Regions from separate parts of the Homo sapiens genome. Here regions 2, 3 and 4 are each linked to region 1. Evidence: promoter capture Hi-C in 16 types of primary human blood cells and fetal thymus (Javierre and others, 2016). All regions are on one chromosome and are shown on one strand. The core of a region is centred on a gene start or on the middle of the fragment in contact, and the rest is flanking DNA. Distances in the headings are between cores, read along the strand shown. Region 1 holds the start of NTN1 (netrin 1). Region 2 overlaps STX8 (syntaxin 8). Region 3 overlaps MYH10 (myosin heavy chain 10). Region 4 holds the start of SPDYE4 (speedy/RINGO cell cycle regulator family member E4).

Region 1 (7,734 bases), core at 3,750-6,249:
TGATACATATGGGCGGAAGAAAGTATTTAGTTATTCCACTGAGAGCTGTCAAGGCCGTAACATTATACATCGTCTTGTCTTTCATATTGTTTTGAGGGTTGTTTGTTCCCCCCCCCCGGAAGAAATCCAAAACTGCATTTAAAGTATAACTGGGCTTTATGAACGTTCACATTTTATTCCATAGAAAGCTTGACCTTGAAACAACACCGAAAAGAAAACTGGACCAAAGAAAACATATAGGATATGTGCATTTCTTAGTCATCTATAAGGACCATGGCCCTATGTCGAAGGACTGTTCAGTCAAATGATAATATTGGTAAATTGGTAAATTTTAGGGGGTTTTCTTTGCGGGAGGGTGGGGCACAGGGTTAACCTAGGGAAGGGTACCATTTCAATTTATTATAAATCACATATCATTATTTTATAAAAGCAAAGACCAAACAGCACAGTAATAGGCTCATTGTTATTAAGACTGATTATGGGAATTAAAAAATATATACTTCTTGACTTTGCCATAGTTGTAAATACTCTGGGTAGCTTGACTTTATATGTCAACAGCGTGAAATTCGCAAGAAGAGATTATGTTGGGAGGAAAATCTGAGCCTCTGATAGTCCAAAGTTACTTTTGAAGGATTTATTAATGCTTTTTCCTAGCACAGTGCCCTTTAGTATCTCAGAACACCTGTCAAATACTAATTCATTCACATATCTCCACTACAGGGCCTTTTCATAAAAAGCTCAACCTTTAATTGTAAATCACCCCTAAATTGTCCTTGCTGTCTTTCTCTTTTACAGAATGATGGAAAAATCACTAAGACTTCAATTAAGACTTTATGGGAACTTCAATCTGATGTTCCCAGCTATATCTACAAGGTATCAGAACATCTATTCAAAAAGGAAACTATAAATAACTTTAACATAGTTGAATTGGCTTTGCTTTTATGAGATGACTGAATAATTGGCAAGATTTAAAGATACTTTAACTACTGGGAATTAAAATAACTTCAGTAAAACCCAGAAAAATATTGTTAGCCAATCATTTGTCATGTAGATTATGTACTTATTAAGCCTAATTAAACTTTTTGAACAAAAACGGTTACTAATTACATTCGTTAATATGTTGATTGCTCAATTTAGCCAATAAAAAAAAAGGTCAATCCAATTTGTGTGCATAGTTAGTGCTTTGGTCAAGAGACAAAATCCCAAACTATAGAGATTATTTCAAGTGCATGACCATCATTATAACAAACGCAGGTTACGTGTCCACATCCAAACTGACGGCAAGACCTGGGGGTGGGTGGTGAATCTGAACAATACCAACGCTAAGGCAAATCTTCAAGCCAGAGAAATTTCACCACCACATCAAGTTTATTCGCCTAAATGTATTCACTTGCATTTGTCCAATTAGACCCTGATGGTGACAAGACAAAGTTATCTTTCATATGCACATACAAACTAAAACTGATAGCAAAACCCTGGGAATCCCTTTAAATGTCAATAAAGGGCTTTTACGCACAAAGGGAAGAAAAGAAAAGAGGAAGGAGGGGGAAAAGAAGAGATGGGAAAAACCAACATTTCCGAGGGAACTGAGCAGATCAAAGGAATTTTATTCTAGAAGACTACTAAGTCGGAGTGTAACTACACTCTCTCTCTCTCTGCGAAATCTTGAAAAGTGTCTTCAGACTGGAAACTAGTTCTGATCCTTAAAAGAAAGGGGACAAACAATTATGTCTGCAAGAGCGGGACACGAGCGTAAAAATGGAGGCCTCCCTTGCAACAGGAGGCGGGAGGCCCGGCGTCTTCAGACCAGGACGCCTGACTGGGCCTCTGCGGCGATCCGGCCCTCCAAGACATGTTTTCCATTCCCTTGCTCAAAACTCTGCATCCACAGTCATGAGGCACAAACTATTCGACAACAACATGACACAATTAATCAGAACCAGACCTCAAAACGTGTGTTTGTGGGGACCAGCAAACTTTGAAATGTGCCTAAGAGGGGCAAAGCAATTGAAGAGCCTCACACTGGCTGTTTGAGATGGGGAGATGGAGAGGAAAAATCTGTACGTTCATAAAGGATGCACACCAAATGGGACATTTACAGACTAAATAATTTTCGCTCAAATAAATGTGGGCTTTGGAGCTTTACTTCCCATACTGAAAAAGTAAGGTGTAGTCTTGCTACCTCCCCTCACCCTTTTTTTCTTTTTATGGGGAGAAACTGATTTCTGAGAGCTTCTGCAGCAGCAAAGTCGTCCAATTCAGAAGCAGAACGTATCCTTTTTTAGCTTCATTTCTGACCCAGCCGTATTCACCCGGTTTTGTCAGATTTCTCTTTCAGGAAATGAAACCCTATTTAAAAAGTGAGAAGCTGGACCCTTAGTTAATTCAAAACTGTTTAATTTCACCAAAGCCTGAAGCTAATAAAAAAAATCTGGTATACTTTTTTAGACCAGAATTGAATTCGTTTAAAATAATTACTGAACGCTCCGTTGTAATCAGCAGATAGTAATTAATTGAAATCACATCATTCTTCTTTTGCTAACACAAACACGCTGTTCAAAAGAGAGACAAAAATAGTTTCAAATCATGAAAAGACAAATGGAGGGCAGGAGTGATACTCGTCGGGTACCGAACTGACCCCAAACTACAAACAGTTCTTTGCCATCTCCCAAGGGATTTGTAGGTGTGGAGTTGGAACTTCCCAGGAACTGGGCCGGGGTCCCCAACCGCGAGCCCAGCTGCAGCCTTGGGAAAGGGGGGTGGGTGCAGGTGAATCCCAGCGTCCAACCCAACGAGGGGGAAGGCAATGAATGTTTGCGTTTGGATCCAGGGTTAGCGGAGACCTATCTGCAAATGTTCTGCCAAACCCCCTCCCGGGAACATTTCTCCTGCTGCTTCTTGGCTTCGCAGAGAGCACTGGGCGCAAATTCGGGCGTCCACCACGAGCGCCACGCGAGCGAGTGGACCTGCTCTGAGCCCTCCCGGGTCCCGGGCATCGGCGAACGCGCCTCCCGCCGTTCCCTCGACCCGCGCTCCTATGAACTCGCCGCTGCGAGGCCCAGCAGCTCCCGCCCGCGGCCCCACCCGCCGCCGGCTCCGCCGCCGCACCCCACTCACCCACGCACTCGTTGGCTTCGCGGGCTGTGGCGCGCTGCCAGGGCCGGTCGTAGTGGAAGGGCTTGCAGCGGTCGCACTCCGGGCCGGCCGTGTTGTGCCTGCAGTCGCACACCAGGCTGTCGTCGCGGTCGCGCACGCAGCGGGCCGCGTGGCCGTTGCACTTGCACCGGCCGCCCACCTGCAGGTCGGACACCGCGTAGAAGTACGAGTCGCGCGCCAGCTCCGAGTCGTCCTCGTTCTCGTCGCCGAACGTGTGCAGGCGGCTGAAGGCCACGCGGATGTCTGTGGCCGTGACCCAGTCCTGCAGCACGGGCGAGTTGTCGAAGTCGTGCGCCGAGGGCCGCCCGTCCAGCGTGCTGAAGGCGATGAGGCCGCCCGAGAGCGGGCGCATGTCGGTGTGCGAGTCGGTGCACACGGCCTCCTGCTCGTTCTGCTTGGTGATGGGCGCGCGGTGCGGCCGGTTGTACATCTTGCGGCACTGCGTGGAGTAGAACTGGAAGGGCACCCACGTGCGCCCGTAGTCCATGGACTTGTAGATGGCCATGGACTCGGGCCGCGGCGAGCAGAACTGCAGGCTCACGTAGGTCACTTCGAACTTCTTGCCGAGGGACAGTGTGAGCGTGACGTTGTGCGGGAACTGCAGGTAGTTCTCGGACTGCCAGCACGTCAGGTTGTGCGGGTTGTTGAGGTCGGTGAGGAAGGCGGGCGGGTGCGCCTTCTTGGGGTCGGACGCGTTGCAGAGGTGGCACGAGCGCAGCCGCTCCTCGCCGCGCTCGCTCACCACGCAGTAGCGCGCCGGGGGCCGGCCGCAGGTGCTGGACACGCGCACGTCCTTGCCGAAGGCCGCATTGACAAAGTCCGGGATGCAGCGGCGCGGGTGGCCGTTCTCGTCCGAGCAGGGATCGGGCTGCGCCGCCTGGCCCGCGAACATGCTGAGCCCGGGCCCGCCGCGCACCGCGCCCACCAGGCACGCCACCGCCGCCAGCGCCGCCAGCGCCTCCCACACTGCGCGCATCATGCTGCGTCCAGCTTGCCCCGGCCCTGCCGCGCCGAGGATCTGTCCGCCTGCCGCAGAAGGCGCCTGCGGAGAGAAGGGAGCTGCGCTCAGCCAGCCCGCCCCGCGCCCTCCAGCTCTCGGCGGGGTGGCGAGCGGAGATGCGGGAGAACGCCCGGCTTCCTGGGCACCCACCCCGCAGCCGACTGCCCGCCTCTCTCCCCCAAAGTCCCGCGGGCGGCGAAGCCGGGGCCCTCCAAGTCCGCACCGCTCGCGCCCCTTCTTCCCCGCCCGGCGGGAGAACGCTCTGCTTCCCCGCCACCGCCGCCCCCACGCCGCCCGAGGGGCATGCCTGAGCCGGTCTCCCCGTCCGCGACCAGCCCCCCTCGCACCCCAAGTTTCGGGCGCAGGAGAGCTGGGGGACCCCGACTCTGCACGGCCCGCGCCCCTTCGTCTCGCAGCCCGGGGTCCCTCTCAGATGCCCCCCGATCGCGTCCCCGCCGGAAAGTCCGCGTTCGGGACTTTACCTCTGGAGGGGGCAAAAGAGAAAGAAAAGTTTGCCTGGCCCCTCCGGGGAGCCCGCGCGCCGGTCGCCGGAGAGCCTCTCGCTCGCTGCTAGCAGGCGCGTCCCGCCTCAGCGCGGGCTTGCCAGCTCCATGCCCGGCGCGGCCGCCGCTGCCCCAGCCCCAGCCCCGGTCCCGGCCCCGCCGCCGCCTCTCTCGCCCGAGTGACTACGCGGCCGCCCGGCTCCCGCCGCTCCCGCCGAGCTCGGAGTGCTGCCCTGCCCGCGCCCGGGGCGCACACACACTCACGCTGGCCGGCGCGCACTCACACACACGCGCGCTCGCCCCCGAAGGCTCCGCCGCCGCCGCCACTCGCGCTGGGAGTGAGGGGCGGAGGGGAGCGCGGGGGCGGGGGGCGGGGCCGCCGGGCGGGGCGCCGGCCAATAACGTCCGCGAGCTGCCGCCAGCTCCGAGCAAAGTTTTCACCCCGGGAAAGAAGAAAGTTAAAGGGAACCGGCCCGGACGCCCGAGAGGGAGAGCACAGGCGGGTGGGAACCCGGGAGCCCGAGAAAGAACAGCAGAGACAAAGAGAAAGCGAGGAGAGCACCCGGGGAAACCCCGGAGAGGGGGCTGGGCCGGGCCAGGCGCGCACCCCGTGGGGGAGGAGGGGCCGCCGGGGACTGTCAGCCTCGCCCGCGCCCCGCGCCGCCCGGAGAGCCTCACGCCCGGGGGAGCGCGCGGGCGGGGGAAGGGGGCCACTTTCTCCCTCCCGGTCCCAGCCAAACACATCTGTGTTTGTTTTCTTTGCTGCGCGGAGGTCGGGCCTTCCTCTAACCCAGCCTGATGGCCCCCGGTGGCACCGCGCACAGGGCTGTGCCCCTGTGGGCACGCAGCCCGGGAGCGTGAGGAAGAGGAGGAGGATGTGACCTCTGCCTGCTCTCCATTTTTGCCCGAAGCCCCCGGGGTCCGGCGAGGAGGGGCTGCTCGCCCGCACTCCCACGGATATCACCGTGCGTGAGCCTGTCTGTCGGGAACGCGGCTTCGTTCTAGCCAAGGGAGCAGTGGTGGGCAGGAGGCTGAAGGGGTAGGAAGCTGGCAGCACCTGGACGCTGGCCACCGCCCCTCCAAGACGGGCCTGCCTGGTCTCAGGCATGGGGACAGCCCAGCCCTCCCCAGATCCCCTGAGGCAGGCGTATCGGTACTTCCTCAACCGCATTTTTAAGGGTGCAAAGCCCTGTAATAGCTCATGGGACCTCCACAGCAGCTTTGCTGTTGTATTAACTCCATTTTGCAGATGAGGAAACTGAGGGTCCCGGGAGCTGAAGAAACTCGCACAAGATCAACCCCCAAGTAAACATCAAAAACAGGAAGAGAAGCCTGGGCTCCTTCCACTGCAGGGCATTCGTCAAATGCATAACCTTGCCGAATGATGGTGTCATGGGGCATCTGCGGGGCCACCCAGCCCCTCCTTGCCTCATTCTCCATCGCCCCAATAAAAAGACTGAGGACAGTGACAGCATCCTTTGGTCATCTTGCAACAGCAGCCAGAGAGCTCTGGGAAAGGAATACACTGGGCCGAGAGTTTGGAACGGAATCTCTGCTCGTTTATTTGTTACTTGTAGATGTGTGGTCCAGTAATAGACCCGGATGAAAAGCCCCAGGTCCTGGTTCCGGCCCAAGGGCTGCCTTGCTGCATTAGCTCCATTAAGTGCCTCAGTTTGTCTTATTGGCATTTTCATAAACCCTGAGAATCTAAGAAGGGGCCTCGGGGCTCGTCTGGCCCAGCTCCGTCTCCTTGGAAGAAGGCCTTCCCCAGCCTCCCAGAGAGACGGCCACCCAAGCCAGCTCTTCCAGGGATGGGAGCTCACCACAGCTCAAGAAAATAAATCCATTCCATTGCAGGACAGCCTGGATTCATCTTCTTACCCCGGGGTAGCAATTTAGCTGTGCCTTCTTGTGCCGTTTACCACACTCTGCACTGTTTATTTATGCCTTACCTCACCTTGTGGCAGAAAGGATTTCAGGTAACTTACAAGGGTACATAAAATATGACACAATAACAAATTAAAAGTGAGGTCAAAGGAAATAAATGAAATGGTTAACCATGGTGACCTGTGAAATCGCAATGGTATACTGAAAGGCAGCATAGCTCTTAGGAGGAAACGCTTCGGAGCCAGGGTACCTGGGTTCAAATTCTGCCTCTGCTGTGTGACTATGGAAAGTCTATGCCTTGGTTTCCTCCATCTGTACAAGGGAGATAATACTTTCTACCCCACTGGGTTGTGAGCATCACGTGAGTTGACACATTTGAATATTATAGCTGATGGGATATAGACATACATATTGCAGGTCTGTAACACATATAAATAGGCTTTCTCATGTATGCAAATGTAAATATGCATAAAACCAGGCACATAGTACATGCATATAGAAATGTTAGCTGTTAGTATGAGGTCGCTTGATCTATACAGAAATTTTAAATCATTTAGAGAACACTTAATTACAGGGAAAGATGTTCATGACATATTATAATATGAAAAAAGCAAATTAAAAACACACAGTATAATGTCATTTTAATTTTTTAAAAAGTATGCATAAAAAGACAACACAGTTAATAGTGGTTATCTCGGAATAATGAGATTACAGGTGATTTTTATTTATCTTTGCTTGTATGCTCTCAGTTTTGCACAGTAAAATATGAAGTAAGAGAACAAAGAAAAGCTAAGAAGGGAGACAAAGTCGAGAGGAGGATACAGGTCCAATGCACCCTGGAGTTCCAACCTCTACACCTCTTCTGAGTGGGCCACAAATTTGTCCCTAAGCTTTCCTGCAGCTAAAATGAGGAGACCATGTTCATTACACAATTCCCAGTGTCCATGAGATAAAAACAGACCTACTGCTCAAGGGAATTACAACTATTCTTGGTACTAAAATCAGATAGGAATTTCTTGTGGGGGCGTGGCCCAGAAAGGGAACACAGTATGGGGTAATGAGCAAACGTCCCTGACAACATCCCCAAAACAGTCACAACAGTGAGCTCGGTTGGACAGTTTCTGTGATCCCCCTGAATGTAAGCTGATGGCATCGCATCAAAACCCAAGTCAGGAAAAGACATTCCAG
Region 2 (7,734 bases), core at 2,658-5,157, 490 kb before region 1:
AATATTTTTACATTTTTTCCCCTTGAATAACAGCTTTTTAAAAGCATGCACTAGGGCTCACAGGAGCTACCAGTGACTGGTTCCAACATTAAGTTCAGAGGAGCAATAACACCTCAGGGGCAATATACTCATTTTGATGGTCATAGCTGGTTACTAATGCACTTTCAAAGTATCTTTACATACCTCTGACCCACTTGCATTTGCAGTAAACCATGGACAAATCCTGTGTAATTCCTGATTTGAAAAGTGGCTCTTGCAAGATGATATGAGAGTTGGGATAGGCTTTGAATGTGAATTTTCTTCTTTCCTTCCCTTTCCTATTGCATTCTTCCCCCTTCTTCGAAGGTACGTGAAATTGAATAATTATTATAGAGAAGAAATCCAAAATCTTGACATCTTGGCTATTTGGTGCCAATGGCATAAAGTAAGGCTTCCAGCTGGGCACAGTGGCTCATGCCTGTAATCCCAGCATTTTGGGAGGCCAAGGTGGGAGGCTTGTTTGAGCCCTGGAGTTCAAGACTAACTTGGGCAACATAGCGAGACCCCATCTCTACAAATAATAAAAATAATTAGCCAGGTGCAGAGGCACGCACCTGTAGTCCCAGCTACTCAGGAGGCTGAGGTGGGAGGATCCCTTGAGCTCTGGAGGTCAAGGGTGTGGTGAGAGATGATTGTACCACTGCACTCCCGCCTGGGTGACAGAGTGAGACCCTGTTTCAAATAAATGAATGGATGAATGAATGAATGAGAGAGAGAGAGAGAGAGAAAGACTTCAAAGAAACACACCTGTCGTTTTAGTAAAGTGGAAGAAAGTCATACTTCTGTTTGGCATGCTAATTAGTATACTTGAGACCAACTCTGTGCTTAAAATCTTAGTCTAAGGAATCAAAAATTTTCTTCCAGTTTTGCCTGGGTTTGTCTCTTGCTACATGAAATAGTCTTCCAAAGGCTTTAAAGTTCTAAACTAAAAGTGAAATTAATATAGCTTTTGTGATATACAGATTTATTTAAAATTTTTTAGTGCCTTCTGTGTAAAAAAATGCAATAATTGGTATTATGATAGTAGTTAACATCTTCCAAGTACGACATTAGACAGTTTGCACACATTTTACACATTGTTTCATCCCACCAGAATGCAAACAGCACCGATAACAAGAATCTATGCTTTGTATGGGTGGAGATTTTGGTCCATTTGTCTATATTCTATTTTTTCTTCATGCCCATTAATGAGAGCAATGCCGACTATATAATAACTACGAAGTAAATGTTTTTGGAATGAAAAATTATTGAATCCTCCAGCTACTTTCTGTTCATATGTTGCCAGTAGGTGATATGCTATTAGCTGTTCACTCCATATTGTGGGACAGCGTGTGTACAGCGAAGGGTGATTTTCAGTTTCTGCCTTCTGTCTAGTGGATATGCACCTTATCTATATAAAAGGTTAAATAATAGGGTAGCAATTGTTTCTGGATGATATGGGAGATGTGAACAAGGCTAGAAGAATTATAAATAATGGAGATATGAGTGAATATATATAAATCACCTGGAGCCGTGTCTGTACAGGGCAAATGCTTACTGCATGTTAACTGTTGTTATTGCTATTGTAACATCATTGTCATCATTTTGTTTTTTGTTTGTTTTTGTTTTGTTTTTGAGATGGAGCCTCACTTTGTTGCCCAGGTTGGAGTGCAGTGGCGCAATCTTGGCTCACTGCAACATCCGCCTCCTGAGTTCAAGCAATTCTTCCTGCCTCAGCCTCCCAAGTAGCTGGGATTACAGGCGCCCGCCACCATGCCTAGCTAATTTTTGTGTTTTTAGTAGAGACAGGGTTTTACCATGTTGGCCGGGCTGGTCTGGAACTCCTGACCTCAGGTGATCCACCTGCGTTGGCCTCCCAAAGTGCTGGGATTACAGGTGTGAGCCACCGCACCCAGCCTATCATTTTGTTTTAATTGACATATAATAATTATACATATTTATGGGGTACATAGTGATGTTTTCATACATGTAATATATAATGAGCCAGTCAGGATAATTAGCACATTCATAATCTCAAACATTTTTCATTTCTTTGTGTTGGGAACATTCTATATCGTCCTTCTAGCTACTGGAGACTTTATTGTTAACTGTAGTCATCCTACAGTGGTGAATAGAACACTCAAACTTATTCCTCCTGTCCAACTATAATTGTGTGTCCCTTAACAAATCTCTTGCTCTCCCCCTTCTCCCTACTCTCCCCAGTTTCTGGTGTGCTCTGTTCTACTTTTTACTTCTATGAGATCAACTTTTGTTTTTAGCTTCTGCGTATGAGTAAGAACATGCAGTGTTTAGCTTTCTGTTCCTGGCTTATTTTACTTAATATAATAACGTCCTCCAGCTCCATCCATGTTGCTGTGAATGGCAGGATTTTATTCTTTTTTATGGCTAAATTGTATTCCGTTGTGTATGTATACCACACTTTCTTTATCCATTCATCTGTTGTTGGATAGGTTGATTCCATATTTTGCCTACTGTGAATAGTGCTGCAGTAAACATGTGGGTGTGGATATCTCTTCAAAATACTGATTTTCTTTCCTTTGGATAAGTGCCCAGTAGGGGGATTGCTGGATCATATGGTAGCTCTAGTTATAGTTTTTTGGGGAACCCCCATACTGCTCTCCATAGTGGCTGTACTAGTTTACATTTCCACCATCTGTGTATAAGAGTTCCTGTTTCACAACATCCTCACAAGCATTTATTTTGTGTTTTTGATGATAGCCATTCTAAGTGGAATGAGATGATACCTCATTGTGATTTGGATTTGCAGTTCCCTGACGATTAGTAATGCTGAGCAATTTGTATATATTTGTTGGCGCATTTGTGTGTCATTTTTTGAGAAATGTCTGGTCAGATCATTTGTCTGTCTTTCACATATTTTGTGTATCTTTTTTTTTTTTTTTTTTTTTGGAAATAGAGTCTCACTATGTTATCCAGGCTTAAGTAATCCTCCCACCTCAGCCTGAGTAGCTGGGACTATAGGTGCATGCCACCATGCCTAGCTCATTTGCCCATTTTTCCATCCAATTATTATTATGATTTTTGCCATTGAGATATTTTGAGTTCCTTACATATTTTGCATATTAATCCTCTGTTGGATAAACAGTTTGCAAATATTTTCTCCTATAGATTGTCTTTTCACTCTATTGACTGTTTCCTTTGCTGTGCAGAAGCTTTTTAGTTTGTTGTAATCTCATTCGTTTCTTTTTGCTTTTGTTGCCTGTGCTTGTGAGGTCTGACTCATAAAATCTTTTCCCAGATCAACATCCTGAAGTGTTTTCCTTGTTTTTGCCTGGTACTTTTATGGTTTTGGGTTTTACATTTAGGTCTTTGAATCATTTTGAGTTGATTTTTTCCTTAGGGTGATAGATGGGTGTCCAGGTTCATTCTTATGCATGTGCATATTCAGTTTCCCAACACCATTTATTGAAGAGACTGTCTTCCCCCAGTGAGTATTCTTGGCACCTCTGTTAAAAATGAGTAGGCTTGGCTGGGTTCACATCTGTGATCCCAGCATTTTGGGAGGCTGAGGTGGGCAGATTGGAGTTTGAGGCCAGCCTGGGCAACATGGTGAAACCCCGTCTCTACAAAAATTATCTGAGTGTGGTGGCGTGTGCCTGTAATCCCAACTACTCAGGAGACTGAGGTGGGAGGCTCACTTGAGCCTGGGAGGCACAGGTTGCAGTGACTCAAGATTGCATCACTGCACTCCAGCTGGGTTATAGAGTGAGACTCTGCCTCGGAAAAAAAAAAAAAGATCAGTTGGCTCTAGATACATGGATTAATTTCTGGGTTCTCTATTCTGTTCCATTGGTCTGTGTGTTTGTTTTTATGTCAGTATCATAAAAACAGCATTGTAGTACATTACTACAGCTTTGTGGTATATTTTGAAGTCTGGTAGTGTGATGCCTCCAGCTTTGTTCTTTTTGCTTAGGATCGCTTGTCTCTTCAGGGTCTTTTGTGGTTCCATGCAGATTTTTAAGATTTTTTTCTATTGCTGTGAAGAATGTTATTGGTATTTTGATAGAGATTGCATTGAATCTGTAGATTGCTTTGGGTAGTATAGTCATTTTAACAATATTAATTCTTCCAATCCATGAGCATGAAATAACTTTGCCTTTGTCTGTATCCTCTTCAATTTCTTTCATCAGTGTTTTGTAGTTTTTCTTTTAGAGATCTTTCACCTCCTTGGTTAAATTTATTCCTAGGTAATTTTGGCGGGGGGATTGCTATTGTAAATGAGATTGTCTTCTTGATTTCTTTTTCAACTAGTTCATTATTTATAGAAACACCACTTACTGATTTTTGTATGTTGATTTTGTATTCTGCAACTTTACTAAATTTGTTTATCAGTTCTGAGAGGTTTTTTTTTGGTAGTCTTTAGGCTTTTCTCTCTATAAGATCATGTTTTCTGCAAACAGAAACAATTTGACTTTCTCCTTTCCAATTTTAATGCCATTTATTACTTTCTCTTGTCTGATTACCATGGCTAAGACTTCCAGTACTGTGTTGAGTAAGAGTGATGAGAGTGGGCATCCTTGTCTTCTAGTTCTCAGAGGCAAAGCTTTCACCTTTTCTGTATGATGTTAGCTGTGGGTTTGTCATATATGGCCTTTATTGTGTTGAGGTACTTTCCTTCTATACCTAGTTTATTGAGAGTTTTTAATTGAGATGTTGAATTTTATCAAATTTTTTTCTGCATCTATTCAGATTATCATGTGGGTTTTGTCCTTTATAGTTGATGTGATATATCACATTTATTGATTTGTGTATGTTGAACCATTCCTGCATTCATTGGATAAATTCCACTTGATCATGGTATATTATCTTTTTGATGTATTGTTGGATTTCATTTGCTAGTATTGAGGATTTTTGTGTGTATATTTATCAGGGATATTGGCCTGAACTTTTCTTTTTCTGTTGTATTCTTGTCTGCTTTTGATATCAGGGTTATTCTGGCCTCTTAGCATGAGTTAGGTAGAATACCCTCACTTCAATTTTTTGGAATAGTTTGAGAAGAATTGGTATGCATTTTTCTTTAAAGGTTTGGTAGAATTCAGTATGAAAGCCATTCAGTCCTGGACTTTTCTTTGTTGGCAGATTATATTATTGATTCAATCTCATTACTTGTTATTGGTCTGTTCAGGTTTTAAAAAAATTTCTTCTTGGTTCAATCTTGATAGGTTGTATGTGTCCAGGAATTTATCCATTTCCTCTAGGTTTTTTAATTTATTGGTGTAGAGTTGTTTGTAGTATCCTGTAATGATTCTTTGTATTTCTGTGGCATCCATTGTCATGTCTCCTTTTTCTTGCCTGATTTTATTTGTTTGAGTCATCTCTCTTTTTTTCTTAGTCTAGCTAATGGTATCTCAATTTTATCTTTACACAAAACCAACTTTTATTTTGTTGATTTTTTAAATACATTTTTTATTTCAATTTCATTTATTTCTCCTCTGATCTTTATTATTTCTTTCCTTTACTAATTTTGGGTTTGGTTTATTCTTGTTTTCCTAGTTTCCTTGAGATACATTGTTAGGGTATTTGAAATCTTTCTAGTTTTTTATTGTAGGCATTTATTGTTATACACTTGCCTCATAGTACTACTTTTGCTGTGTCCCATAGGTTTCGGTATGTTGTGCCTCTATTTTCATTTACTTCAAGGAATTTTAAAATTCCATTCTTAATTTTGTCCTTCACTCACTGGCTGTTCAAGAGCATGTTGTTTAATTTCCATGTGTTTGTATCATTTTGCATGTTCCTCATGTTATTGATATTTTCCACTGTGGTTAAATAGGATACTTGGTATGATTTCAATTTCTAAAAAAATTTTTGAGACTTGTTTTGTGTCCTAACATATGGTCAGTCCATGTTCTATGTGCTGTTGACAAGAATGTATATTCTGTAGCTGTTGGGTGAAATGTTCCATAAATATCTGTTAGGTCTGTTTGTTCTGTGGTGTAGTTTAAATATGATGTTTCTTTGTTGATTTTCTGTCTGAATGATCTGTCCAATGCTGAGAGTGAGATGTTAGAATCTCCAGCTATTACTCTATTTGAGTCTATCTCTCCCTTTAGAGCTAATAATGTTTGCTTTATATATCTGAGTGCTCTGGTATTGAATGTGTATATATTTACAGTTGTTACATTCTCTTGTTGAATTGATCCCTTTATTATTATGTAATGTCCTTCTTTGTCTAATTTCACAACTTTTGACTTGAAGTCTGTTTTGTCTGATATAAGTACAGCTACTCCTGCTTGCTTTTGGTTTTTGTTTGCGTAGAATATCTTTTTCCATACCTTTGCTTTCAGTCTATGTGTGTCTGTAGGTCAGGTGAGTTTCTTCTATGCAGCATATAGTTGAGTCTAGTCTTGTTTTTTTTTTTTTAATCTAGTTATCCAGTCTATGTCTTTTAATGAGATATTTAATTCACTTACATTCAAGGTTATTATTAATAGGTGAGGACTTATCTTGTCATTTTATTGTTTTCTGGCTGTTTTCTATATCCTTTGTTCCTTACTTCCTCTTACTGTTTATTTTTGTGGTTGGGTAGTGTTCTGAAGTGATAAGGCTTGATTTCTTTCTCTTTTTCCTTTGTATATTGGCTCTACCAGTGAGTTTTATAGTGTCACATGTTTTTATAATGGCTGTTATGATCTTTTCACTTCCAGATGTAATACTCCCTTGAGCACTTCTTGTAAGACTGGTCTAGTGGTGATGGATTACCTTCGTTTTTGCTTGTCTGTGAAAGATTTTATTTCTCTTTCATTTCTGGAGGATATCTTTGCTGCATGTAATATTCTTGGTTGGCAGATTTTTTTTTTCTTTTAGTACTTTGAACATAAAATCCTATTCTCTCTTGGTTGGTAAGATTTCTGCTGAGAAATCTGCTATTAGTCTAATGGGAACTCCCTCATAGGTGATTTGATGCTTTTCTCTTGCTGGTTTCTTTTTGTCATTGTTGTTTGTTTGTTTTTGAGATGGAGTCTTGCTCTGTTGCCCAGGCTGGAGTGCAGTAGCGTGGTCTCAGCTCACTGCAACCTCCGCCTCCCAGGTTCAAGTGATTCTCCTGCCTCTGCCTCCTGAGTAGCTGGGATTACAGGCACCTGCCACCATGCCCAGCTAATTTTTTTGTATTTTTAGTAGAGACAGAGTTTCACCATGTTGGCCAGGCTGGTCTTGAACTCCTGACATCGTGATCTGCCAGCCTCGGCCTCCCAAAGTACTGGGATAACAGGCATGAGCCACCACATCCAGTCCTTCTCTTGCTGTTTTTAGAATTCTTTGTCTTTGACTTTTGATAATTTGACTCTAATGTGCCTAAGAGGGGTCCTGTTTGAATGGAATCTATTTGGGATTCTTTTAGCTTCCTGGATCTGGAAGCTCCCAAGACTTGGGAAGTTTTCAGCTACTATTTCATTCAATGTTTTCTGTACATTTGCCCTTCTTTTCTCTTTCTGGAACACCTACAGTGTGAATATTTGTTCACTTAATAGTGTCCCATGAATTCTGTAGGCTTTCTTCATTCCATTTTACTTTTTCTTCCCCCCATCTTTCTGTGTTATTTCACAAGATCTGTCTTCAAGTTCAAAAATTCAGCCACGCATGGTGGCTCACACCTGTAATCCTGGCACTTTGGGAGGCCAAGGCGGGCAGATCACTTGAGATTAGGAGTTCGATACCAACCTGGCTAACATGGTG
Region 3 (7,734 bases), core at 1,989-4,488, 460 kb after region 1:
TCTATTCTGTTTCCCCCACCCCCAGCCCTCAAACCATACCCTAAATTCAAGAGAGACAGTTTTGGTGCTCAGTGGCCCCGCTTTTTCCTGGAAAAGATAAATTGCTACTAAGCCGTCATTTGTGTCCTTGGGTAAAGAATGTAGTGGTTCTGTTACGAAGTGTAAGGATTTATCCCCCTGCCAGGGTGTGTTTCAACTCATTATTTTAGTGTTTGGACAGATATAATTCTATATTAGTTATCAGTTGCTACGTAACAAATGATCCTAAAACCTGGTGGCTTCAGGCATCGATTATCTCATGGTTTCTGTGTGTCAGAAAGTCAGTAGCAGCTTAGCTGGGTGACTCTGGCCCAGGGTCTCTTAGGAGGTCGTCACTGAGATGTTGGCTACAGCTGTAGTCATCTGAAGGCCTGACTGAGGTGGGAGGATCTCCTTCAAATCTTCCTCAGGTAGCTCTTGGTGGGAGGTCCCTATCCTACATGGCTCTTGGCTGGAGGCCTCAGTTCCTGGCTTTGGAGGCAGCCTCTCCATAGGGCTCCTTGAATGTTGCCATGACATGGCAGCCAGCTTCTCCCAGAGCAAGTGATCCAAGAGAAAGACAGAAGTTACACACTCTGCCTTGGAAATCACATGCCTTCTTCTATTGTCTTCTATTGGTTATACAAACCAACCCTGATACTGTGTGGGAGGGAACTGTGAATACCAGAGGTGGGGATCATTGAGGTGGTCTTGGCTATCATGGCTACTATGAATCCTTACAGTGATTTCCATCATTGATGTATGTAGGGTTTTAACCTGTAACTGGAGTGACTCTAGGTCAGTGGTTCTTAATTGGAGGTTCCCCAAGGGACGTTGGCGGTGTCTGGAGACATCTTTCTTTGTTTAACTGGGAGATTGGGTAGTGGTGTGCCACTGGCATCTAGTTGGTAGAGGCCAAGGATGCTGCTAAATACCATCCAATGCATGGCACAGTCCCCACCGCTTAGAATTATTGAGCCCAAAATACCAGTTATGCTAAGATCGAGAAACCCTGCTCTAGATCGTTCCTTCAAATTATAGTCTAAATTAAGGTAATTATTTTCTGAAATTTATTTGCAAAGTAATACATGAGTCTATTTAATGCTTGTTATGTATACATCCTATTCCAAAGGTTGACAATCAAGTCTGATAGAAACCTATTTTACATTCTGCTGGTAGGAAGAATTAGATTGTTTTCTAGCCACCTGGAAGCAGCACACAGGAAAGAAGCAGGAATTAGCCATTGAATCCAAATGTTCAACAAATGCTATTTCAGCTGAAGTGCCACCTTCCAAAGTGCCTGCACTACTATATAATAAGTGCATTCTAATATAGTAAAAGCTGATTTGTTTTTAGTAGAAAAAAGATTTTTTATTAGGGCATTGTTCTTAGACGTAGCTTTCAATTCGACCAAGAAACAGAGATATCTTTAAATTGTTTACTTTGGGCTTTAATTCTTAGAAAGTCAACTTTTATTGATACGTATTTTTTTTAGTAATAGTTTATTGCTATCTACTGTTATCATAAGGTGTTACCTACACAGTACTAAAACAAGTAGTTGATCTCAGTAGCTCCATTAAAAATAATTAGGTCCATTGATTAAATAATGTTCAGTTAAAATTCCCCTTTAATATTTATCTATTGGTGTTGGTTCTTGGGGTTTGAAAGAAACTGTTGTAGACTCATTTTTAAATTCAATTCTGTGTAATTTTGATGTTTGATTTGTTATTTAGTTCTTTTAATTATTAAGCACCTATTATTTGCCAGCCACTGTGCAGCTTAATTGATATCTCCAAATGGATGTCAATAGATTCTTGAAGTTTAACATATTCCAAATGAAAGTTTTTCCTTTCCTTTCAAAATTTGTTCCTTTATGTCTTACATCAATAGATGGTATTATGAAATCACCCAGTTGGTTAAACTTAAAATAAAAGCAATAGCAAAACCTAGAAAGACAAAATACCTAGGAATCAGCCTTTTTCTCATGGCCCACGTCCAGGCCAACAGTGAATCCTGTTGGTTAAACATCTAGAAGGTGTTTCAGATCTGTCCACATTTCTTCTCCTAACTAGCTAGTTAGTCTAAAACCATATCTGAGGATATTTCTTCTATTATTCTCTATCACAGTATCCTGTTTATTTCCCTCATGGCACCTATCACAAGCTGTAACTAATTACTTTGTGTATTTATTATCTTTCCTAGTAGAATGTCTAAGATCTTTGTCAGTAGGGACTTTGTATCTTTGGTTCCTAGCATAGTGCCCCACAGGTATATTTATGGATTTTATGGAATTCATTTACTGAAAATGTGGCAGACACTACAAAGTGCCATACACTCTTCCAGGCCCTGGGAATATACCAGTGGTCAAAACTAAGGTTCCCTAGCCCTGTAGAGCACACCTTCATATTGGTGTTAACTTTAATATGTTTTCAACGGCATGTCATGATGTTGTTGAGCTCGGGGAAGGTAGTGCATATGCTAGATCCTCTGAGAATATGCATGCCCCCATTTTAGAAGCAAGGGTAGAGAACATGAGGGAGGCAGTTGCTCCGTGGGCAGGCCAGGCCTTGGGTTGAGATCAATGTCATACCAAGAGTAGTACGATGTTAAAAAATGAGTTGTGTATACAGTGAAATTTCATGCAGTCATATTTATAAGCTACATGCTTACAGTGAAAATATTTGAGGCTATAAACTCCATAAGCTTTAGAATCCATTTGGTTCCATTTCTTTGATCTGATATAGACGACTAATTTCCTGAAGAATATCTTTTCTTTCAAAGATACTAGCATATGGTTTATATTAAAGGGATTCTTTATTTAGGAGAGCATTACCCTTAAGAAAATAATCGTTCACAGTTAGTCCAGTTCTCTGTTTATGGAGAAGTAAAATGCGTTCCAGATGGAGGAGATTTATGTAAAAAGAATCTCTCATAATGAAACTTTAAAAACAGGGACTTCAATTTCAAAATGATTGTTTGGATCAGCAGGTACATCTTCCCTCACAGAGTTTTAGTTAGAATCACTTTCTCTATTTCCACAAATCCTTCTTTTCTTTCCTTTTATTTTCTTTCTCTCTCTCTTTTTTTTTTTTTTTTCCAAGTTGACTTAAGCCAGGCTGGCAATTTCCAACTATTATGTACCTCTTGGTAGATAAGTATCCTCCAGCAGTTAAAGCTAGGTAAGGGCTCTAGGCATCCTCCTTACAGTTTGGCGACCAGGTTATAATGAAAGCACGTCCGGATTCTGCACCCTCATATCTATTTATCAAAAGGCAGTTGCTGAAAACAGTTTTGTAAGTTGCATGCAGCCCAGCTCTGTTTAATTTCTCTAACCAAACGTTTACCTGAAAGATTTACTGAGGCAAATGTGACAGTATCAGTGACAGAATATGGTCTGCACCAGGCAACCAGCATCTTCCAGATCACTGGCTGCACACAGCCATTTAGTATCAAGCTCTAGGAGCACCCCCAACAATACAGCCTCCTGGACTTGCTGGAGTCTCAACACTTGTTCCCTTGACCCCGGATTGGGGAGGGTCTATATATATCTTTCTTTGTTTTTATTTATGTATTTATCTTTTTTTAAGGCTCTATTTGAAGTTAATATATATCTCTTTCTAATCAGTCCATGGCTTAATGCCACTCATGTTACCCTAGTGATTTCTAATATCCATTATACTAAGTAATGAGGCCACTTAGTGCATGTGAAAACTCATTTTACTAACAACAAAGCTTCTGGTTTGGTTTGGAGATTAAGATAGCTAAAGCATTTAAGGTGGCCATCTGGCCTTTGGATTAAGTGCTAGCTCATTACTCCTAGAATGGATTTTCTCATTTAGGGCAAATAGCTAACACACATGCATAGCACCCTATCTGTGCTGATGTGTTTTAATGCATACTGCAGATCATGTAATAACTTTAGATGCCAAATTAAGAAGGGGGAAAATATGTTCAGAATATGAAACAAACCTGCATTGCCCCTAAATTAAGTTGCTAACTAATAACTAATCTAGTTTTAGTTACTATAGATACATTATAATCACCCCAGAAAAGATTCTAGAAATCGATGTCAATTCAGAACAAACAAAATTTTTGAAACTAATTAAGATAATTTTCATTTTATTTTCTTCAGGGTATGAAAATATCAAATATCCGGGTTTCCCTATTGCACATTTTGAGTGAAATCCTTAACAAGTTATATTTGATTATATATGAGAGAATTCTAGTTGTCTTTGCTGTTGAGAGCTCTCACAGTACACGTGTAATTTCACTTGTTTCTGGATTGGTATACAATAAGCGTTATCAAAATGTGTAGCTGTAATTAATACACAAGGTACTTGTCACGTTTTGGGGGTTTTCCATGCTTTTGTTTTTACTGGTGAAGTTCCGATTGAATATTCTAAGTACCATAATCTGACCTTTATGCAAATCAATTATGGAGTGGGCATTTTCGGCACAGATTTCTTCACATAATGTTTAAAGATAGCGTTCCCACTTAAAAGTAAAACTCGTATTTTCCAATTTAGTCTAGATGTGTGTTTCAATAAAAATGTTAATTCTGAAAGTATTTATTATAGATGTGAGGAGAAAGCTTTTTTAACTTTTAACAGATATTCTCTCCCCTCGGCCTGCCGCCAAGGAAGAAAGAAAAGTCACCTTTGCTTATCTGGCCAAGTGGCCAACACTCAAGTGACGTCAGGTCCCATGGCCTGCATCTTACCTGATTTGCCAGCGTATCCAACATGAAGGGGAATAATCTAAGTCCTAGATCACTTGGGGATATTCAGTAAAGTTTTTCATTTTTGCTTCTGAAATTTCACTTTGTCAGGTTGTCAAAGTGCTTGGCTATGTCTTGTAAAATATCTGAGTATGAGTGTCATTTAGCTAGAAAGTTGATAATTTTCAACTTCATAAGGTTTTTGTTTTGTTAAAGTGTTTTTAAAATAGAATACATGTTAGTGCTTTGGCTTATAACTGAGATTTATTGGTTACCAAATATATTTTCAGAAATACCGTTCTCTTTTGCCTCCTTCCACACCACAGGCCCCTGCAGCCCTGTCTCCTTCATCATTGTTCTCCATGCATCTCTTCTTTCACTGCTCTTTGCTTGGCCCTTTGCATCTAGCCGAAAGATATTTCACTGGCACTCACTATCATGGCTAGTGCCACTATGGACCCTAGGTGTGAAAAGGACACCAAGCTAGGGAACTGATGAGGAATAGAGTGTTGCATGTTGGTGACTTTGCTTATTTATCTAAGTAAGTGACCACATGTCTGAATTATTTTGGAACATTTCTCTACAGCTCACCTGTTCAGAGGCCCCAAATCTTTTTTTTTTTTTTTTAAGTACAATTTCCATTTTATTTTTCTCCAGAGAATAGTCTGTCTTCAGTCTTTAAGAACTCAGCTCCTTACATGGGCTTTGGTGGGAGACATGGGGCAGCACCCGCAGGTCTAAATCGGGGTGGGGGTGTTCGGTCCTTGCGGGCTTCACGAGATCGATTCCTGACTACTTTGCTGTGAATTGCACAACTCACACGGTAATGTAGCTTCACACACAGCTTGGGAAGCACATAGGCATCGAAGACACTTGCTTCAGAATGCCCCTGACTGCTGCGGCCTCCACTGTGTTTCGAATGACGAATTTCTTAATGGCCTTGTCCTTGGGCATGCATCGGGCACAGTTAGTGCAGCGAATAGCCTGCACGTGGCCGCGGCCCTTTTCAGCACGACCTTTGTTCCTTCTTTTCTTTGTCATCTTGGAGGCACGGACCGGAGAGGAGAGGCCCCAAATCTTAATTTTCTCCCATTTCTCCTTTGTTTGTTTTTGTTACTGAGTTTTTATTTTATAATCCTAAACTTAACTACAATCCAGCTTGATGTCGAGGGGAATAAGGAAACCAAAGAACTGCAGTGAGACCACAAAGATTACAGGATATTGTGAGCAAGTGGGATGGAGGGATGCTCTCCTGAGCTACAGAAAGAATGATTTGGTGGTTAAGATCAAACACAAGCAGATTGATTAGAGTTGTCCGCAGTTGGCAGTGGTGATCTTCTTGCCAGTCTCACCATTCCCGGACCCAGAGCACTCCATGGCTTCCATGATATTCACTCCCTCTTCTCACTTTGCCAAAGACCTTGTGCTTGCCATCCAGCCACTCAGTCTTGGCCACACAGGTGAAAAACTGGGAACCATTTGTGTCGGGCCAGCATTTGCCATGGACAAGATGCCAGGACCTGTGTGCTTCAGGATGAAGTTCTCATCATCAAATTTCTCCTGGTAGATGGACTGGCATTATTATGGTGTGTGAAGTCAGCACTCTGGCAGATAAAATAAACCCTGGAATAATTCTGTGAAAGCAGGAACCCTTATAACCAAATCCTTTTCCTCCAGTGCTCAGTGCACGAAAGTTTTCCACTGTTTTTGGAACTTTGTCGGCAAACAGCTCGAAGGAGCTGCATGGGCCAAAGGAGTTACCATCAACAATGATGTCAAAAGAACACAGTGGCGTTGACCATGGCTAGAGGCAGGTGGCTTCAGGTGGCAGCGATGACTACAAAGCCCCATTTCTCCTTTGAACCTAACTTCCTTTCCTATTTTAATGTCCCGTGAAGGTAGGGAAAAATAAATTCACTAAATATACGGTAAATAACATTTAAGTTTAGATTTTACAGTTGCTAGAATTCAAAGTTATCTGTGTATTAATGTTATCATATTGCCCAAATAAAGAATTAGTTTTGTTTGATGAATTTCAAACTTCTAATTTATTTGAGGTGGTAAAGAAAAAAAAAGGAAATAGTATTCGGAGTTGAAAGCTTAAACCGCATGTTGATATATATATACTTAATAAAGAAGTTAAACATACATGTTGGTGAAAGCTAAAAGTTTATATTACTGGATATAAAGAATTTTTTTTTAGTGAAATGTTTTCTTAAAATAAGAACTAGGTGATACCATATGATTTTGATGAACCTTTCCGCAGAATTAAAATGAGAAGTTTGAGAACGCATTTGCCCAGGCAGTCACGTTGGCCGTGTGTCCTTAGCAGCTCTGTGGTAATAACATTGCCTTTTGACTACTGTCTCTTAAAATAGCAATATTTTTATTAACTCAATGAGGTAGTGTATAGATAATACAGCTGTTTAAAATTATTTGTGGAGAATTTTAACCATCAGTATAACATCAGGACCCAATTTCAGTTTCTTTTTTGAACAGTTCTAACTATTCATAGGATTGATAGCTTTTTAACTTAAATCTTTCTTAGGGGTCTTCCAAAAAACAAAGACAAAATATACTTATTTTTAAAATAGAATGAAGTTCATTCTCTCTTGTAATTACATATGGGTCCATTGAAGCATTTTGTAAATCTAAGATACATTATGGAGTATTAGTGATCTTATTTGTTTCTGTGTCTTGAAATAGTTTGCTGTTTTGTCATCTTAGAAATTGATTCATTATTAACTCATTTATTCTCAACTATGCTAAAAAAAAGAATAAAATAATAAGAATAATGGGATTGCCTAGAAGGATGCTACAGTAATAACTATTGCTTCATCTTTTAATTTATTTATTATATCACCCCAAATATTGCATTGTCTTTCAAGTAGGTATGAAAGAAAACTAGAGAAACCATCTTTGTAGGTTATTTTTAGCTTTTAGTGAACATAGTTGAAAAATCAGAAGTTTTCAATTTCTAGTCATTATGTCAGTGAGAA
Region 4 (7,734 bases), core at 3,620-6,119, 260 kb after region 1:
TTCCATTGGATATCCTGCTACAGAATGAATTTTCACATTGAACATTTAATTTCCCATTTAAATAAATCCACCTGGAATTTGATTTGTATATGTCTGTTTTCCAAATAATGAGCTAGTTGTGATCGCATGATTTGTGGCTTAATCTCTACTTTCCCCACTGGGATATGCCATGACAGCATTTAATGCATTCCTATAGAAACTTGGGTTTATTCTGAACTTTCTATTCTCTTGATTGTATCAAGGATCATAAACTGGGACCCTGTAACCCGTTTCAGGCCTCCAGATCCAGATTTGTGTTTGGTCTTGTTTTGGTTTTGGTCAGAAGTGTCTTTGAAAATTGTGGATTTTCATGCCTTTAGGCAGCTCACAAAGTCAGGGCTATCTTAGAGCAAGATACTTGCCCAAGCTCTTAGAGCACTTGAGGATTTTGCCGGAGTGACACTAGCAACATGCTGTTTTAACACTTTCACCTTAGAACACATTTTGGTGTCTGGCAGTGGACATTCCCTCTCATTCTTCTTTTGTGATGGTTCCTTAAGTACTCAATTCTCTAGATAAACTTTTACATTGTTCTGTCAACATCTGCGGGGGGAAAAACTCTTTGAGATTCTGATTGCAATCGCATTAAATTCCTAAATTCATTTGGATTGAATGTACAGTTTTACCATATTGAAACATCATTTAGACATTTTGTAAGTCTCTATTCAGTTCTTTTATATTCTCAGTGAAAATTTTTAGTGTTTCTTCTTTTAATTGAGATGCAGTCTCACTCTGTCACCCAGGCTTGAGTGCAGTGGCGTTAACTCGCCTCACTGCAGCCTTCGCCTCCCAGGCTCAAATGATCCTCCCACTTCAACCTCCTGAGTAGCTGGCAGTACAGGCATGCGCCACCACACCCAGGCTAGTTTTTTATACTTTGGTGGAGACAGGGTTTCGCCAAGTTGCCCAGGCTGGTCTTGCACTGCTGCGCTCAAGCAATCCTCCTGCCTTGGCCTCCCAAAGTGCTGGAATTACAGTTGTGAGCCAATGTTAGGGGGCTTGTCGACCAGCATACAGGGGCCTTGGAGGCTGCTTCAAAAGTTCCCACTAAGCCAAGGATACAAAGCCTGGTGACAGCCCTCCCATGTGAGGCCCAGGTCTTACTTACCTCGCTCAAAAAATCTTTCCTGCTCATTTCATTCGAGAGTGATTTTGCTTTCTTTGGGATCTCTATTGCGCTGCCCCACCCAGAGAGTTCCAAATCTGAATGGACTCCAATGATGAAGTTAAATCAGCCCCCACCTCAGTCCTTTGGAATTAGAATCTGTGGGGCTGGGTCCTGGCATCTGTATCTTAATGTTCCTAGTTGAGATCCTTAGGCTGAAAGGCTGGTATTTGCAAAGCACTTCTTCTCCTCCAAACTCAGCCTCCGAACTAGCTGGGACTACAGGTGTGTGCCACCACACCAGGCTAATTTTAAATTTTTTTGGAGAGACGGAGTCTCACAACGTTACTCAGACTCATCTCCAACTCCTGGGTTCAAGTGATTCTCCAGCCTTGGCCTCCCAAAGTGTAGGGATGACAGGCAGGAGCCACCATGCCAGCCAATAAAGCCCTTCTGTTTCACTCTAATGATATCTTTGGTGCATAGCTACAGCCATTGTTGTATTAACCTGCATCACTGAAGGAAAAGAGAAGGGGAGAAGTGATAGTTTTGCTTTTCCCTGAACATATCAGATGAAACCTGAACTGTTTAGCTCATTTTTGGACAATGTATTGACATAATTTAAGATGGCTGCCTTATTGTAGCCTGTCTACAGAAGGTGCCTAGAAGACAGAGGAATATGTAAAACTGGCTTGAAGAGTGATTAATCAGAACTTTACGTGGTACAGAAGAGAAATTTTAATGGCAACAGAATATTGATCTTCTAATGTTTGAAAGCCTATTAAATAGGAGAGAAAGATGATTTTCTGTTTTGTTGTAAAAGGATCCAACCAGTTCTGATGGTTGAAAGCATCGTGAATGCGAAGGTCCACTCAATGTAAGCAGAGTTTCCTAACAATTGGACTTCCACAGCGACGGGATCTGCCTCCTCATTCAGTTGTGCCTTTCCCATCAGCGAGAGACTCCTAGGAGCCCATTAGGAAGCTGTGCCAGAACTCACAGGTTCTTTGGATGGTATCTGAGATAGTATCCAGCTCTTACATTTTTATTTTTTCCGAAAAAAATATTTTTGAGACTGAGTCTCACTCTGTCCTCCAGGCTGGTGTGCAGTGGTGCAATCATAGCTCACTGCAGCCTCAAACACTTGGGCTGAAGCAATCCTCCTGCCTCAGCCTCCCAAGTACTGGGACCACAGGTGTGTGCCACGATTCCTGATTACTTTGTTTATATTTTGTAGAGATGACGTTTTGCTATGTTGCCCAGACTAATCTTGAACTCCTAACCTCAAGTGACGCCCTGCCTTGGCCTCCCAAAGGAGGGAGATTATGAGCAGGAGCCCCTGGGCCTGGCTGAGATTTTCCCCTTAGTCTTTTTATACACAGGATATTTTATTCATAAAATACATAAATAGTAGGCAAATTTTGGGGTCAAGTGAAATAGATATGTTGTAATAGTTGATATATAGACCAGAGTTCCTTAGCTGAACTGGAGGGCAGGCTTTAGGTGATCCATGGATGCCCTGAACTTGTGGACACCATTGAAAATCTGTACGAAACCATGGACAGTCTCCTGTGATTTTCATTCCTCAAAATGTCTCTTGGACTCAAAGATGCCTGAGAGCAAAGGATGCATGTTCCCCTACTATAGGATCCAGGATAGTGAATATCAGTAAACATTCAGCAAAAAAGCTTTGCCACATTGAGTACTTCGACGTAACGTCTCCATTCAACAAGTCAATTTACCCAGGATCTCCTGTATATGTTAATCTCACTCTTGGAAGGACTCATCATTCTGCTTACCCTAAATTTCCTTCCACCTTCCTCCCTCTCTCACCAGACTAGACTCTGAAATGGGAAGGAGAAGCGGGGAGGAGAGCCCAACACCCCCTCAAGTTTAGAGTGGAGAGGACACAGCCTCTGCTGGGACAGGGAAAAGAGGAATGTGGAGACCCTGAGGATGCTTTTGGACAATGCTCAGAGGTTGGGACATTGCCAGGAGATACCGTTCACCCCGGATCTCCAAGAAAAGAGATCAGTCTGGCAGTTACATGTGTTTTTCTTCAAAGTAGTTGCCAGTTTGGAATGACCGATGACATCAGAGATTCCGACTTTCCTGATTGGAAGGACCGGACTCTGGTTGCTTGGGAGTTCAGGTGGACAACAGCAACTTCTCAGAACTACTCTTCACTCCTAACTTCTCCCGAGCCTCTAGAAGAGAAACGCACTCTTCTGGGTCCTAACGGAGTCTGGAAGAAGGCTTTGGACAGAACAGGGACTAGGTTTTGTGGACAGAAACAAAGTGTTTGGGAGAGATTATGGCCAGTGGTCAAGCGCGCCCCCCGTTTGAGGAGGAGAGCCCCCAGCCTAGCACAACGGTACGGTCCCCCGAGGTGGTGGTGGATGATGAAGTGCCAGGACCATCAGGTGAGGTGACTGGAGGGAGAAGCGATGGGAGATGATTGACTGAGGAGAGGGAAGGGGGCCAGTTACTGGGAATCTGAAGCACCTGAGTAGGGTGTGTGGGAAAGAAACGACGGACTCAGGAAGCCAGGGATCGGGGAAGGAGGGTGCAGGGAATGGGGCCAAGCATGGCCACGTGTAAAGAAAGTCTGGGGAGCAATGAAGGGGGTCAGGAGATGTGCTCAAAAGATGAGAGAGGAAGGCCGAGGCGGACGGATCACGAGGTCAGAAGATCGAGACCATCCTGGTTAACACGATGAAACCCTGTCTCTACCAAAAATACAAAAGTGAGTTGGGCATGGTGGTGCGTGCCTGTAGTCCCAGCTACTCAAGAGGCTGAGGCAGGAGAATCATTTGAACCCAGGAGGCGGAGGTTGCAGTGAACCAAGATTGTGCCACTGCACTCCGGTCTGGGCAACAAGAGGGAGACTCCATCTCAAAAAAAAAAAAAAGAGAGAGAGAGAGAGAGAGCAGACAGAGCTCAAGGGAAGGTTTCCATTTTTCTCCAATTGAAAGTTCTTATCTGTGATGAGGAAATGTTTTGAGGACAGAGAGCCGGAAGAATGGGGAGGTGAGGGAGAGGCAGATGGGGATCAGCAAAGGAGAAAGGTGGAAACATGGCTTGGAGAAGCTGACAGTCTGCGAGGCTTGGGAGGATGGAAGAGTAGTTTGAGGTTCCTGGGTCGGGGCGTCTAAGGTGATCAATGGCAGAAACATGACACCATGGCCTGGTTTCTTCACTCAGCCCCTTGGATAGATCCCAGCCCCCAGCCTCAATCCCTTGGCCTGAAAAGGAAGAGCGAATGGTCAGACGAATCCGAGGAGGAGCTGGAGGAGGAGCTGGAGTTGGAGCGCGCCCCTGAGCCCGAGGACACCTGGGTGGTGGAGACGCTGTGTGGGCTCAAGATGAAGCTGAAGCGAAAGCGAGCATCCTCCGTGCTCCCTGAGCACCACGAGGCCTTCAACAGGCTCCTTGGTAGGAGGATACCCCAAAAAGCACCTCCAACCCTGTTCTTTTAAAAAAGTGGAATCTTTCAATAATCACACTTTCCCAATAAGAAGAATATGCCCTCCTGGGGGATGAGCGCTCCATGCAGGAGGAGGATGCTTAGGAGATAGAGGATTAGGCTAGTCTTAATAAAGGTCTGCACTTGAAATAAGAAAGCTTGGTTTCTGGCCAGGTGCAGTGGCTCATGCCTGAGATCTTGGTGCTTTGGGAGGCTGAGGCGGGAGGATCTCTTGAACTCAGGAGTTTGAAGTTGCAATGAGCTATGATTGCACCACTGCACTCCAGCCTGGTTGACAAGGAAAGACCCTGTCATAAAATAAATAAAATAAAATAAAATAAAAGATAAAAGAAAGCTTGGTTTCAGCTGTACCCTCTGAAACTCTATGTCTCTTGATGACTTTTCTAAACCTAAGTGTCTCCATCCGTGGAGGGGGATAACAAGGCCATGGGCACACCCAGCTGTGACTATCTCAGGAAGCAATGATGGGAATTCTATTATGACTTCTGCAGTGGTCCCTTCCTGTCTGATGGGAGGACATCATGGCTTATTCACAGCTCTTCATCCTGTAGACTCTGACACCAGAGGCCTCCTTCGGCCTCTCCTCAGGGGAATCTCAGAGCGGGAGCCTCCCTCCTTGCCCAGTGAAAGTCCTTCTCTCCTCTCCCATCCACCTAAGCCTTGGCCACAATCCTGAGACTTCCCCCAGAGGGACACAGTTCTCCTCTCTGCTCTGCTGCTCCCACGGCAACCCTGTTCCACTTCTCACCCTGACACAGGCTCTCTTTTCACAGGGGATCCTGTCGTTCAAAAATTCCTGGCCTGGGACAAAGACCTGAGGGTGTCAGACAAGGTAAGGTTGTTCTCCACTCAACTGTGTTCCTGCTTTAACACACGTCCTGGGGAAGGGTGCAGCGTCTAAACCCACAGTTTCTCTCCTCTCTCCCTCTACCATCTCCCACCTGCTGATTCCATACTCTTGGGCGCCCACATTTTGATTTTTATTTTTTCAGAAACAGGGTCTCGTTCTGTTGCCCAGGCTGGAATGCAGTGTTGCCATCATAGCTCACTGCAGCCTCAGCCTCCTGGGCTCAAGTGATCCTCCCGCCTCGGCCTCTCCAATAGCTGGGACTCCAGGCGTGAGTCACCGCCCCCAGCTATTCTAGGTCTTCTCATAATTTGTCAGCATCTCCCTCGGGGCTCTGGTAGCCTGTTGCATAGTTGATGGGTGGCCCCTGCCTCTGCACAGGGTCCTTTGGAATCCAGGCCCTGGGCCAGTCTTGAAACTCCTGACCCCTATCCTCTCAGATCTTTGGGACAGTCCTTTGCCCCAGCTCACCAAGACCCTCCTGACATTAGCAGCCCTAGACACTCTCCCTCCAGTGATCCCACTGGAGCTCATCATCATGGGAGCATCACAGACCTCCCTCCCTCCGACTTCCCGGATTTGCAGCTGACTTTGAACACTCTCCACCCGCAAGCCCCCAATGAGCATAGTCACCCAACACTGAGGTTCCTTCTGTGATAGACAACCGCGCCCCAGCCCCTGTTCCCTTCTCTCCACCATCTTCCTCTTCCAGGATGTGACCAACCTTTCTCTCTCTCTACTCCCTTCTCTCCATCAGTATCTCCTGGCTATGGTCATAGCGTATTTTAGCCGTGCCGGCCTCTTCTCGTGGCAATACCAACGCATTCATTTCTTCCTGGCTCTGTGAGTAGTTTGCTTCTTCCCATCTGTCAATATCCAACACCCTGGGACAGTGGACGAAGTGGGATTCCAACCTTCCATCTATTTTTTTACCCTACTTCTCCTCTTTACTCTGTATATAAAAACGATAAGATTATACTATGGTGTTCTTAGTCTGTTCTTTCTAAAAACAAACACAAATGCAGTTGACAAATAGTAGAATCAAACAAAAGGAAACATAAACCCGTCCTAAGGGGAAAGGAAAGCCGTGGACACGACCCTGCTCCCCAAGCAAGCAGCCATTTCTGGTTCTCTCGTCTCTCTCCTTCCCATATCAACACCAAATGCAATTTTCCATCCTCCTTCTCCAGGTTCCCATGACAGAGGCAGAAATTCAGGTCGTCCTCGCATAACACAGATCCATCATCAAATACTCCCTGCTGGGCATTCCTGCGAGTCCTGCCCCAAGCCAGGGGGCTTCCTAGTGCTGCCTGAATAGCTTTCCAAAGCACAGCTCCCACCCCCCCTTCACTGCCCACCTGAACAACCTCCTTAGCTGATTTGTCTCTAAACGGAGGCCCGGGTCCACAGGGCTAATTCAACCCTCTCTGCAGTCCTTCTACCACCAAACCTGCCCACCATCTTCATCTTTCCTTGTTTGCTTTCGCCACTCCTTCCAAATGCCCTCCACTCCATTTTGATTTTGTGTTTTCTGTCTGGGTGTCCTGCACACATGTGGATCTGAAGGGAATGACCCATTCCTTAAAGTCAGTTCAACCCCACAGCCTTTGCAATGCCTCCCCTGATCTTCCAGCTTCTGCACGCCCACAGCACTTTAGTGACATCCTAGGATAATGTGACATTTTGGATTCGTTTATCTGCCCTCCTTTTCCCCAAACCCATCAGAGTAGACCCCTGTTGAAGGCAGGGTCTTGTCAAAATATCAAAGTTTTTTGTTTTTATCTTTACCGGACAGAGACTTGCTCTGTCCCTCAGGCTGGAGTGCAGTAGCCAGATCATAGCTCACCGCAGCCTCCATCTCCTAGGCTCTAGTGAAGCTCCCACCTCAGCCTCCTGAGTAGCTGGGACTACAGGTGCATGCCACCACATCTAGCCAGTTTTTATGATTTTTAGTAGAGATGACGTTTTGCTATGTCACCCAGGCTGTTCTGGAACTCCTGGGTTCTCACCTCAGCCTCTCAGAGTGCTGGTATTATAGACATGAGCCACCCAATCAGCCAAAATATCAAAGTATTCCTGAAACACTCAGCACAATTCTTTTCATTTTGCAAGTGCTCATGTTATATTGACTCTATGGAATAATTCATATGGCATTTGCCTATAAGATAAATCTTTCCTTCTTTCCTTCATTCATTCATGTATTCATTTATTCAACAAAACCTTATGAAGTTCATCATATGTGCCAGGGAATAGGAA

What was found. The method cuts DNA at HindIII sites, captures the fragments that hold promoters and counts their contacts. A CHiCAGO score of 5 or more calls a contact.
Region 2: a fragment that was not itself captured here is called in contact with the fragment with the promoter of NTN1 in region 1 in 1 of 17 cell types (endothelial precursors); the score reaches 6.4 in endothelial precursors.
Region 3: a contact is called between a fragment that was not itself captured here and the fragment with the promoter of NTN1 in region 1, in 1 of 17 cell types (naive CD4 T cells). The highest score is 5.7, in naive CD4 T cells.
Region 4: a fragment that was not itself captured here is called in contact with the fragment with the promoter of NTN1 in region 1 in 5 of 17 cell types (naive CD4 T cells, naive CD8 T cells, total CD4 T cells and 2 more); the score reaches 6.0 in naive CD4 T cells.

What each region holds. Positions count from the first base shown.
Region 1 is chr17:9,018,775-9,026,508 of GRCh38, reverse strand. NTN1 (netrin 1) reads right to left here and starts at 4,999. Exons shown (of 7, transcript NM_004822.3): 1 at 4,924-4,999; 2 at 3,118-4,198. The coding sequence starts at 4,135. RefSeq lists silencers at 4,748-5,537, 5,588-5,637 and an enhancer at 5,058-5,601. The HindIII fragment of the contact is 7,248 bases long and covers 191-7,438 here.
Region 2 is chr17:9,508,525-9,516,258 of GRCh38, reverse strand. The region is part of intron 4 of STX8 (syntaxin 8); the gene reads left to right. Among named protein-coding and RNA genes, the nearest start is that of STX8, 63 kb to the left of the region's middle. The HindIII fragment of the contact is 1,391 bases long and covers 3,212-4,602 here.
Region 3 is chr17:8,559,272-8,567,005 of GRCh38, reverse strand. The region is part of intron 7 of MYH10 (myosin heavy chain 10); the gene reads left to right. It also overlaps the pseudogene PPIAP52 and the pseudogene RPS26P53. Among named protein-coding and RNA genes, the nearest start is that of MYH10, 68 kb to the left of the region's middle. The HindIII fragment of the contact is 1,029 bases long and covers 2,724-3,752 here.
Region 4 is chr17:8,754,107-8,761,840 of GRCh38, reverse strand. SPDYE4 (speedy/RINGO cell cycle regulator family member E4) reads left to right here and starts at 3,295. Exons shown (of 7, transcript NM_001394956.1): 1 at 3,295-3,567; 2 at 4,349-4,579; 3 at 5,405-5,463; 4 at 6,236-6,321. The coding sequence starts at 3,459. The HindIII fragment of the contact is 197 bases long and covers 4,771-4,967 here.